Linked DNA regions of Homo sapiens: region 2 is linked to region 1. The links are contacts of gene promoters, found by promoter capture Hi-C in human tissues and cell types (Jung and others, 2019). All regions are on one chromosome and are shown on one strand. The core of a region is centred on a gene start or on the middle of the fragment in contact, and the rest is flanking DNA. Distances in the headings are between cores, read along the strand shown.

Evidence for each region. Contacts are between HindIII fragments. The study calls those that stand out against the background at their distance.
Region 2: a fragment that was not itself captured here is called in contact with the fragment with the promoter of RAB11FIP4 in region 1 in 3 of the 25 tissues and cell types used here (IMR-90 fibroblasts, bladder and liver).

What each region holds. Positions count from the first base shown.
Region 1 is chr17:31,388,600-31,394,761 of GRCh38, reverse strand. It overlaps RAB11FIP4 (RAB11 family interacting protein 4), which reads right to left and starts at 3,087. Exons shown (of 15, transcript NM_032932.6): 1 at 2,751-3,087. The coding sequence starts at 2,909. RefSeq lists an enhancer at 3,283-3,872. The HindIII fragment of the contact is 17,895 bases long and covers 1-6,162 here.
Region 2 is chr17:31,642,683-31,648,844 of GRCh38, reverse strand. No RefSeq gene overlaps it. Among named protein-coding and RNA genes, the nearest start is that of MIR365B, 70 kb to the right of the region's middle. The HindIII fragment of the contact is 6,637 bases long and covers 1-6,162 here.

The DNA of each region.
Region 1 (6,162 bases), core at 1,838-4,337:
TGTTTAACCAGCCTTGTGGATTCAGACACACCAAGCACTGCTTCTCCAGCCCGCAGGCAGCAGCACAGCTGAGAGTGATAGAGGTAGGATGCTAGATTCTCTTTCTTGACAGATACAATGTGATGAAATGAACAAGACGAAATTAAATGGGAATAAGGGCCAAGAAACAGGCTTAGATTCCAGAAATTACTGACAGACAACAGGCCCGAATGCTTCCACAAGCCAGGATTGTTAAAAGAAAAAAGAAAAGAAAAGAAAAGAAAAAGGAATTGTGTACAGTAAGAGAGACTAAAAGGTGACAACAACCACATACACTGCACAGTCCTGGAGAGGAAACAGCAAAAATGGACATTTTGGGGTCAAATAGGGAAATCTGAAAAAGGTCTGCATATTAAACCAGATGAAAATTTATTGAAGCAGAAAAGTCATGATCATTTACCGGCAAAAAAAATCAGGTTACAAAACAGTATGCACAGTATGATCTCATTTTCTGGAGAAAATTGACATATAAGCATGGAAACAGCTCTGGAAAGGTCTGACAGAAGTGTCATTGAGGCGCTGCCTGAGAGATAGGACACAATACTTTTTATTTTGCTTGTCCCTATTTCCAGTTTTCTGCAATGCATATCCACCGCTTCTGTAGTAATCTCAGAGTATGCTTTTAAAAGAAAAAAATCACTGACCCTCCCCGAAGGGTGGAGAATCCCTGGCTTGGCAGAGGTTTCTAAAACAGATCCCTGGAGGTTTCGGTGGCCAGAAACTTAATATAAGCAGAGTGCAGTGCCCCATTCAGAGGCAGCCCCACCCTAAGCTGTGTGCATATGTGTGAGGTCTTGGGGCTAATATAGTCCTGGTGGGGGCGGCGGGGGGCGGTCTGCTTGTCCAGCCCTTTCATGTTATTGCTAGGAAAACTGAATCACAGAATTAGTCGATGGCAGCTCCAAGGCCAGAAGCCAGAGGTCTGGCTACTGGGTCACATGGAAATGGCCTAGGGCTTCAGGAACTGGGGTATTTGGCCTGGAGAAGGGAAAATGGGAGTATGGAGCTGGGAAGGAGAGAAGGGGCAGGAGTGCTATTTTCAAATATTTAAAGGCTCCCCCAAAGAAGAGAGACCTATGTGAGTCCCCGTGCAGAACGGTGATGACTAAGTGACAAGCAGGTCTGTCTCTAGAGTGTATGAGGGAGAAGGTTCTAATGGCAGGAACTGTCCAGCTGGGGGAGAAGTGGGTGAGGCTTGCTGGGCACGTGGCTGAGGCCGGTGGCCCCTGCCAGAGGTTGTTGGGAGGCCCTTCCCACTACTGAGGCTCTGAGTTCGGGGACTCCAGGTTTCAGCCAGAGCTGGTAGCTTCTTTACCCGACCTGCAGTCTGTGTTCTGAGAGGAAGGAGCGCGACTATCCCCATGCCAGGAGTCTGCTCAGCCTGCCCCAGATGGGAGCCACTGGAAAAACGGAAGGGCTTGGCTGGCCTTTGGGGAAGAAGGGTCATGGTGGCAGCAGGCAGTGTCCCTCAGCAAAGCCCCGCAGAGGGCAGTCTGGGCTCTCACAGGCACTGCAGTGGTCTTTCCTGTGGTGGGTACCTGAGTTCTCAAGCCCTGAAGCTGCCTCACTCTCTTCTGCCCACAGCTCTCAGCGACTCACAAGTCCCGGCCCATGCCCAGGTGCGGGTGGAGAGATGATTCTCAATCGCCTCCCACTCTCTGGTGACGCAGAGGCACGGGCCCAACCTGGCCATCACCCAGCTTCTCCCATGTTCTGAAATGCCTGGTCCGACCTGTTCTGGGAACACAATGCCAGCCAGTGCCCATTTGAGGCCCATGGCCCCAGGCCCCCCATGCAGGGCCTGAGGCCTTAGATGGCCTTGGAAACCCACTTCTCAGGGCTTTTGGCTCCAGGGGAAACCCCTGACCATTTCAGCCAGGTGGGTGTCTTGTCCTCCCCTTGAGACACAGTCCCCAGTCCCCATGCCGGTGGCACCAGAGGACACTGGTGTAGTGTGCGTTTAGTGATATGACTCCGTCCACCCTACTGGCGGCACCGACCCTCCGCTTCCAGCCCTGTTAACAATCTACGTAAGTCCTGCTTTCCCCAAATAGATGCGGCCCCGCCACATGAAAGCCCTCTGCTCAGCCACCACTCCCCGAGCCTGGCTTTGCCTGGCCTGCTGCAACCAACACAGCCAGCTGCCAGCCTGGCTGCCCAGCAGAGCCTGAATGAGAGGTCACCCGACACTGGCCCGGGAGTACACGGTGGCCCCAGCAGACACCTCCTTCCGTGTCTGGGCAGGGTGTGTGCAGCCGAGGAGCCAAGGCTGCAGAGCACCCCTACCGGTCCCTTTCACCCCCTGGCCCGGCCCAGCAGGACGTACACAGACCCTTGCATCTTGGTCTCCGCAGCGCCGGGTGGGGTGGGGAGCCTAGGGCCGGATTCTGGCAGCTCTCTCCCCCAGACAAGGGTGGATGTGCAGACCGCTCAGAAGGACCTGCATGGCCGAGGAAGGAAGGTGGGCGCAGAAGCCACCCTAGGCGTGACGCGTGACGCTCGGGGCACGGGCGCCGGGGGGCGGAAAGCGAGGGCCCGGCTGGGCCAGGGATACCCGGGGGGGGCCGAGGTCCTGGGCTCCGGCGGAGGGAGGGGATTGGGAGGGAGGCCACCGCCTCGGGCCACGCGGGTGACCCGGCGGGGGAGCTGGGGGAGGGGCGGCGGGGCTGGGCTGGGGTCCCCGGGCCGGGACTGGGGTCGGGCCAGCTTACCTCCTCGCCCTGGCCGAAGCGCAGTCCGAGCGCCGCGACGCGCTCCACGCGCAGGAAGCCGTCGGGGTCGCGGCCGCACACCTCGAACACCTCGCGCAGGCGGCGCACGGAGCGCAGCAGAGCCGCGGGGGCGCCCGACCAGCCCGCGCCGCCCGCCATCCGGGCCGGCCCGCAGCTCAGCCCGGACCCCTCGCCCGCCGCGCCCGCCGCCTGCCCGCCGCCGCCATCGCCGCGCGCCCTCCGGGGCCGCCCGTCTGGGTCTGCGCCGCGCAGCCTCCGCCCGGTGGCGGCCGCGGCCGATCCGTGTCAGCAGCGGCGCCGCAGCCCCAGCCGCTCCGGAGGGGAAGGGAGGGGAGGGGAGGGAAGGAGAAGAGTGGGGAGGGGAAGGAGGAGGGGCAATAGGGGGCGGGGAGGGGAGGGGCGGGGGCCGCGGCGAAAATGGGAGGGAGAGGGGGAGGCGGCGGGGGCGGCGGCGGCGGGGACGCTGCAGACAAAAGGAGCCCGCGTCCTCCCGAGTGGGGCGGCCCACGCGGGGCCGGCAGGCGCAGCGAGCTGCCAACGGCCGCGTCCTCCGCGACCTCAGTTTCCCTCCGCGTCCCCAGTTTCCCTCCGCGTCCCCGAGCCCACCCCTTCCTCTGGACACCCGGAGCCACCCAAAGGCCCTGCCCTGCCGGAGGATTCCGCGGGGTCGCGCCCCTTTCCGCTATCCGTGCCCGCTGCCGCGCCTGGCGTCTCCCGAGCGCTCAGGATGTCCTGGGGGCCTCCTGCATTGGCGCGTTCCGTGACTGCATTCATCCCGGAGGAAGCTGAGGCCCAGAGAGGTCGGACTCACTCTAGGCCACACAGCTGGCAAGAGGCAGGGCCGGGATTCGCTGCCATCTCTGGAGGGCTCTGGACTCCGTTCTTCACCTCCGCCCTGCGGTCTCCCGGCGCTCTCCTGCAAGACAGCACTTGTGGGGCCATCGGGCGGGGGAGGGCACAGAGAGGAGGAGCAGGCAACTGAACCCCAGCCTGGACCCGGGACCCTGCGACGGGGAGATGAGGAGAAAACCAGGATGAGGCCGGAGGGAGGAAAAGCGAGGCGCTTCCAGAGGCCTGCCTGTTCAGGGCCCAAGGCTGCTCCACGCCTGGAAGAGGCTTCCTCCCTTTCGCCGGGTTCCCACCATCACACCTCCCTGGCAGCCCGCATGCCCCAAGCTCAGAGAATCCAGGACAGAATCTCTGTCCCGCTGGCCGCAGGCTCTAGGTCAGGACCCTGGCCTCCTCCCATTAGTGCTCAGCGGAGCCTCCACCCCAGCTTGTGCTAACTTCCCAGCCCAGCCTCGGGGCCCTGCAGGACCCGGCCGGGCTCTTCTCTCCACCTTCTTGCTCGGCACATCAGGTCTTTGTGGCAACGACTGGCCCCAACCCAAAAAAAGGCCTTGGCTGAGTCTACTCCCACCTATGCTGTCATGCTCAGCACAGAGGTTTCCTCCTCCGGGAAGGCTTCTCTGATGGCACGCCATCTTATCTTCTATTCTGAGTTCTAAGCCCTTCTTCCAGGTGCCCAGTTAATTCTTAATTCTCTAGTGGGATGCCCATTTCCCCTACCATGCTGGGAAGCCCTCCAGGGCAAGATATGTCTTAATTACCTTCAAGTCCCTGATCTCCAGGCAAGAGTGGGCCCAGAGGAAGCCCCACCCAGAGGGGATGGGCCCGCCCATTATGTGAGGAGCCGGGAGCAACGTAGTGGCGCAGACAGGGAGTACGGGGTGAACTGCATGGCCTCCCCTAGCTGGGCCTCGGTTTGTACCTCTGTGGTCTTCCTGCTCAACCCTGAATATATCCTGCGCAGGGACTGCCATTTGCCTTCTGACAGTGGGCGGGGACCTCTTCTTTCCAGCCCCGGCTCCTGGGATGAACCTGGCTTTTAGCTACTCTCCTTTGACCCTTCAGTTCGTCTGAGAGCCACGAAAGGCAACACCTCTTGGGAAGAGAGACCTGTGGTTCTGAGGATTGAGGAGTCCGAAATGTGAGAAAGCGGGAAAGGGGAGGCCGTGGGAGTGGAGTAGGGGTATTCGGCTGAGTAGGAGCGTCTCTGCTAGCTGGATGCCGCTCAGCAGGATACTAGCATATTTTAGCCGGTTTCCTCGCCTGTACCGTGAGGATAATAGTACCTTCCTTTTAGGGCAACTGAAGATGAGAGCGAATCTAAGCAATGCTGCTTTCCCCCGACCTACCCTGCAAAATGGAGGTGGAAGTGGAGAATAAGGACAAGCAGCTGGCTGGGAGAGACTGGCTGCTGGAGATCCAGCCAGCCCCCTGGCAAGGAGGTAGGGAGTGGAAGCTGGGGGCTGCTGCCTGCCCCTGGGACCCCGATATTAGTTCGTCCAAGGTCAGCTCGTGCCATTTTCTCTCACCCAAGGGGCTCAGCACAGAAAGGAGATGGCCAGGAGCTGGGGCTGCCCCCTGGTGGGGGCTGCAGAAATGGCTCTCCGCGCTCAGCCTGGCATTGAATGCCCCCTAACTGGGGACAGGGGAGCTGGAAGACTCACCCACTTCAGCTGGCAGAGGCGGGGACCTCAGACCTGAGCATGAACAAATCCCAAGTGAACCAAGACAGAATCCCGCAACCAGATTAGCCAGTTCTTGTCAAAGACAGGATCATCACAAATTCAAAAATCCCCCAGGAGAGCTTTCCCTGACCGGACTCTCCTTGCCCAGGTCTCTGCAGTTTTGTCTCTGGTGGGCGATGGTTTGAAGGACACCTGCCTCCCCCACCAGTGGCACTGGGTCTCTTGCTCACCGCTGTGCTGCTGGGGCCAGCAAAGCACGTCACAGGCATTCTTTCTGGGGTTGTCACGTTTTTGTTGAGCACCTACGTTGTGTTGGGTATGCTAGGGAGACAGTGAAAGGGGTGCAGCCACTTGCTGAACTTGATGGGGGCAGTCATGGCCCAGTGTGATCTACACTGAGGTGCCAGGCTCTAGGAGCCCAAGAGGGCCTGCAGAAATGGCTGAGTGCCTACCCAAAGGTCCCTCAGAGATGGTGCAATTTATGGAGTCCTTGGGTCCTTGGAAGTGGACCTGGGACCACTAGGGCTCCCAAAACCCTGATCCAAGAGCTCAGAGTGCAGCCCCGAGCAGAAGCAGCAAGAGAATACCCATGTCAGGGCCGGCTGCAGGGTGAAGGGGGTTGCTCCAGGAAAGCAAGAGGTCCCCATGGATAGGGCGGGAAGGCGCGGAGCCTCCTTTCTGTCCTCCGCTTCCTCCAGGTGACCTCTGATTCTCCAGGGGATTTCCAACAGCTGCAGCAGCCTGGGCAGGCTGGAAATATACTGGGAAATATACATGGAAGGGACAGTTGGGACTCCGGCCCCTTCTCTAGGAAGAAACAAGTTTGATCAGGTCCCTCCCCTGCTGAAAACTCAATG
Region 2 (6,162 bases), core at 1,765-4,264, 250 kb before region 1:
ATTTTTATCGCAGTATCATTTGTATGTGTTTAAAGAAACTAAATAGTCAATATTAAGGCATTGGGTGAAGTAATTATGGCACATGTGTCATGTGATGTTTCATGGAGCCATTTGGAATGTCGTCACAAATGATCATTTAATTTCTTGGGGAATTACATACATTGCTGAATTTCTTTCCCGAAGGGTAATGCCCTTCCTTCACTTTCACCAATATTTTGTATTATCATTTAAACATTTATGCAAAATGACATATTCTTGCTATTTTAAATTTGCCTTTGTTTGATAACTATAACTGAACGTTTTAATTAAACATCAGTTACTTGTTCTTATTCTTTTGTGATTTGTCTATTCAAGCATCCATCTATTTCTATCAGAATGTCCATCTTTTTCCTACTAAACTTTTAGTATGTATTTTGTATTTTGAAGCCATCTCAAATTTACAGAAAAGTTGTGAATACAGGGTAAAGTCTTTTATTTCCTGAACCACTTGAGATCTGATGTACCATACCACCCTGCCTCCAAATACTGCACTATTAAAGAAAGGGTGCTGTGGCTCACACCTGTAATCCCAGCACTTTGGGAGGCCAAGGCAGGTGGATCACTTGAGGTCAGGAGTTTGAGACCAGCCTGGCCACACATGGTGAAACCCCGTCTCTACTAAAAATACAAAAATTAGCCGGGTGTGGTGGTGTGTGCCTGTAATCCCAGCTACTCAGGAGGCTGAGGCAGGAGAATCACTTGAATCCAGGAGGCAGAGGTTGCAGTAAGCCAAGATCACGCCACTGCACTCCAGCCTGGGCAAAAAGAGACTCCATCAAAAAAGCAAAAACAAAAAACTTCACTGTATGTTTCCTACATTGCCACAGTCCTACTGGCAAAATCAGGAAATGAACATTGATATTTGTGACAGATTGTAGTTTCCAAAGACAGCTGCAGCAGTATGTTAAACCTCACATATTCTTTTTCAACGTGACCTCAACACTCCTCCATAGAGAGATGAGGGTCTATATCTCCTTCCTCTTTAATTTGGGCAGGTTTTTGACTTGCTTGTAACCAACAGAAGGTGGCTTCAATGGCCAAGACAGGAAAGGTGATGCAACTTCTGCCTTGTTTGCTGGAATATTTGTTCTTGGAGCCCACAGCCTCCATGTAAGAAATCTGACTGAGGCCACCATGTTGTGAGGAAGCTGGATATATGGAGAGGACACCTGTAGGTGCCCCTGTCAGCAGTCTTGGTCTTGGAGTTTTCCCAACCCAGGCACCAGGCATGTGAGTTTGTCACACAGAAAGCCAATCACTGAGACACCAAGTATTGCCAAGGTAGAAGGCTTTAATCAGGTGCTGCGGCAGAGGAGATGGGAGCTCAGCCTCAAATCCATCTCCCTGACTGACTAAAACTAGAGGTTTATATAGCAGAGAAGAAATGTAACAATGTGTAAGAAAATAAGAAGTAGGGAGGGCCAAGGAGGCATCTGGTGAGTGAGCAAGACTTTAGATGGTTCCAGAGACCCTAGCCATAGAATTACCCCCAGGCTCAAGTTTTCTCAGATGAGGCCCCAGACCTCCTGGGGCAAAGACAAACTGTCCCTGTTGAGCCCTTTCTGAATTCCTGACCCACAAATGTCTGGTGCTAAATTTCACTAAGTGGTCTGTTATTCAGCTATGATAGCTTGAGTAATACACTGCTTCCATCAAATCCTCAGACTTTATTTAAGCTTGACCTCCTGTTCTCAAAATATTCTTTATAGTAGAAGGATCCACTTCAGGACCAACCTCAGTCTACTCCAGTCTGAACCAGTTCCTCAGTCTTGACAAAACTCATATTACTGAAACTTGCCCAGTAGGCCCATAGACAGTTGTTTTTGGATAAATATAGAAATTGACCCTTCTGCTGTTACAGCTTGAAATTTGTATCTGTTTTATCCAACTTCCTTCCTCAGGAAAGGACCTTTAGGCCTCTCAAGAAAAGGATCAAAGAACTGAAACTCACCTGATCACCACCAGATACCTCCTTGGCCCTTCCTAGTTCTTGTTTTCTTATACATTGTTACATTTCTTCCCTGCTGTATAAACCCCTAGTTTTAGTCAATCAGGGAGATAGATTTGAGGCTGAGCTCCCATCTCCTCTGCTGCAGCACCCGATAAAGCCTTCTTCCTTGGCAATACTTAGTGTCTCAGTGATTGCCTTTCTGTGCCACGAGGAGCAGGACCTAGACCAAATGCCCAGTGTTTTGGTAACATTACCTTGATGCTTTTGAAGATTATAGACCAGCTATTTTGCAGCATGTGCCTCACTTTGGGTTTGTGTGTTGTTCCTTCATGACGGGATTCAGTTATGTATCTTTGGCAGTGATACCACAAATGTGCTAACATGTTCTTATTGCATCCTATCAAGTGGCTTTCAATGTATTCATTTCTATTCATACAAATGCATAGTTTGTTATTTTATCTAATGAATTATAATCTGTTGCGCTCATTATTTATTTTGATGCTTAAATTGCCACAGATTTCGCTAGCAGGGGCCCTTGAAGGTGAATGCTACGCCCTGTTGACATATTTCTCATTCTTAGAGCACTTTCTTTCGCTTTCAGGCTCATCTTGTACTCTCCCCGCAAGTCTTAGAATCAGCCACTTTCCCAGGGAGATCTGGTTGCTTTTTTGGGGAATGGTATGTAGAAGCCAAAATCTGGGCATTACATGTGCTCATTGTTCTTAGGGCGTTACTGCTCCCAGTCCAGAGCTAGGAACTATGTATTTATATGTTATATACATATACACACTTATATTTATATATCAACATGTGTATTGAAAAATCATGAATTCACACTAATACCTCTCATTTCAATCCAGTGCCCCCGGACTTATTAACATTTTCTTTCTTCCATATTTGTAACTCCCTTCTCTGTCTTCACTGTTAGAGGGTAATCAGGTTCCTGTTATCTTTATTTGATCAAGTCTCCTGTTTGTAGTCACTCTTCCATCACCAGTGCTGCCTCCTTCCCCTTCACTCTTCTTGGGCTCTAAAATCTTGTGTCAAGGTGCCAGTGACCCCTCCCTACATAGACACTCTCTTCCCCTCACCTGTGTTTCAACATCACTCACTGGGCCACTGGGATGGGCGCTCTCCTCACCCCACCAGGCTCCAGCATCCCATGTTTAGCCACACCTCCCACTGCCTAGCATGCTCCTCACCCCACTCAGACACTGAGCTCCCATGCTGGGCTTCTCCCTGACCCATCCCTGCATGGAAATGCCCCTTGCTATGCTTGGGATCTGATACCATATGCTGGACTGCCCCCATGTGGATGCCCTCCCTGCCCTGCTAGCGTGTCTCCCCACCCCAACCCTCTCAAGCCTGACTTCTTGCACCAGGCACCCTTTGGGGGAACATCCTCCTTACTCTATGTGGGCTCCCACACCCATGCTGCACTGGCCTCCTCTACTGGCCCCCTCCTCGCCCTGCTCTGCCTCTAGCACCCCATGTGGGCCAGTTCTCTGTGGATGCCGTTTTCACCCTGTTTGGGATCTGACAGTCTGCTCTGGGCCACTGGGGCTCTCCAACACCCCCACCATTGAGGGGGTCTATATATAGAGAGACAGAGAGAGAGAGAGAGAGAAAGAAAGAGAGAGAGATCTTCTACTAGAGGATCCAAACTAATCTTTTAACCTATCTTTTTCCTCTGTCATTTGTTCTATTCAGGCCAGGATGAGATGATTCCCATCAATGCAGGGGAGGGAAATCTGCTTTACCAAGTCCACTAATTTGAATGCTAATCTTACCCAGAAAGACCCTCACAGACACACCCAGAAATGTTTAATCTGAGCATTCCATGGCCCTGTCAAGTTGACATGTAAAATTAACTGTCATGAATCATAATCCTTTGTCAATTACATATACTATATTGCATTTATTTTTCCTAGTTTGTTGTTTGCCTTTTAATTCTGTTAATTTGTTCATTTTTGGTTAAAAATTACTTATCTCATGTTCAATCTGTAAATGTTTATTATAGAAAAATGATGAAATACAGAGAAGCAAAAGAAAACTCAATCATAATCGAATTGTCCAAAGACAAGCTAATGTTAGTGTTATTTTCCGGATGCTTTCTTTTTCTTTTTTTTCTTAAGACAGAGTCTTCTCTGTTGCCTAGACTGGGGTGCAGTAGCATTATCTCAGCTCACTGCAACCTTCATCTCCCAGACTGAAGTGATTCTCTCACCTCAGCCTCCCAAGCAGCTGGGACTACAGGCATGTGCCACCATCCCCAGCTATTTTTTTTTTTTTGTATTTTTAGTAGAGACAGGGTTTGCCACGTTGCACAGGACTTAGCCTCCCAAAGTGCTGCAGTTATAGGGGTGAGCCACGACACTTGGCCTCAGATACTTTTTTATACTTTTTTTTTTGCATCGTTCATATTTTCTTTAGGGTTAAAAATATTAAGTATTTACAATATGCTGGTAGAGAGTGAAGAATGAAGATATATACACTAGTCTTCATCTATTATAGGAAACTTTTTAAAAAACCATCATAATAAAATGCAAAACAGCAGTAATTATGACAATCAGTAAAAATATGAAGAGATTTCTGGATTATTGGGCAGGACCTCTGTGCTATCTCCTGAATGCCTACAGACAACATTAATAATAATAATAATAATAATAATAATAATAATATGGTACTGATAATTGTCATTTCAACAATTGATCTACTGACAGGTTACCCTTGGAAAAAAAATCTTATAGTTTTTCTACACATCTTTAAACAACATTAGATCAATATTTTAGAACCTGTTCTTTTCACTTGACAATGTGTCACACACTTCATCATGACAGTGTTACTGGAAAGGGGTCCTGATCCAGACTCCAAGAGAGAGTTCTTGGACCTCGAGCAAGAAAGAATTTGGGGCAAGTCCATAGAGTAAAGTGAAAGCAAGTTTATTAAGAAAGTAAAGGAATACACTTTGGGAGGCTCAGGCAGGTGGGTTACCTGAGGTCGGGAGTTCAAGACCAGCCTGACCAACTGGAGAAACCCCATCTCTACTAAAAAAAACAAAATTAGCTGGGCATGGTGGTGCATGCCCATAATCCTGTGTCTGAAATTTATTACTTCTGGTGGGTTCCTGGTCTCGCTGACTTCAAGAATGAAGCCGCGGACCTTCGCGGTGAGTGTTACAACTCTTAAAGATGGTGTGTCCTGAGCTTGTTCCTTCAGATGTTCGGATGTGTCTGGAGTTTCTTCCTTCCGGCGGGTTTGTGATCTTGCTGACTTCAAGGATGAAGCCATGGACCTTCATGGTGAGTGTTACAGCTCTTAACGGTGGTGCAAACCCAAAAGTGAGCAGCAGCAAGATTTATTGTGAAGAGCGAAAGAACAAAGCTTCCACAGCATGGAAGGGGACCAGAGCAAGTTGCTGCTGCTGGCTCAGGTGGCCAGCTTTTATTCCTTTATTTGGCCCTGCCCACATCCTGCTGATTGGTCCATTTTACAGAGTGCTGATTGGTCCATTTTGCAGAGTACTGATTGGTGCGTTTACAATCCTTTAGCTAGACACAGAGCGCTGATTGGTGTGTTTTTACAGAGTGCTGATTGGTGCATTTACAATCCTTTAGCTAGACACAGAGCACTGATTTGTGCATTTACAATCCTTTAGACAGAAAAGTTCTCCAAGTCCCCACTTGACCCAGGAAGTCCAGCTGGCTTCACCTCTCAATCCCAGGTACTCGGAAGGCTGAGGCAGGAGAATCGCTTGAACCTGGGAGGTGGTGGTTGTGGTGAGTTGAGATGGTGCCATTATACTCCAGCCTGGGCAACAAGAGCAAAACTGCATCTCAAAAAAAAAAAAAAAAGAAAGAAAGGAAAGGAATAAAAGAATGGCTACTCCATATGCAGAGCAACCCCAAGAGCTGCTGGCTGTCCACTTTTATGGTCATTTCCTGATTATATGCAAAACAAGGGGTGGATTATTCATGAGTATTCCAGGAAAGGGGTGAGCAATTCCTGGAACTGAGGGTTCCTCCCCTTTTTAGACCATATAGGACAACTTCCTGACATTGCCACGGCATTTGTAAACTATGTCACTGGTGGGAGTGTCTTTTAGCATGCTAATACATTATAATTAGTGTGTAATGAGCAGTGAGGATGACCAGAGGTCACTTGGGTTGCCA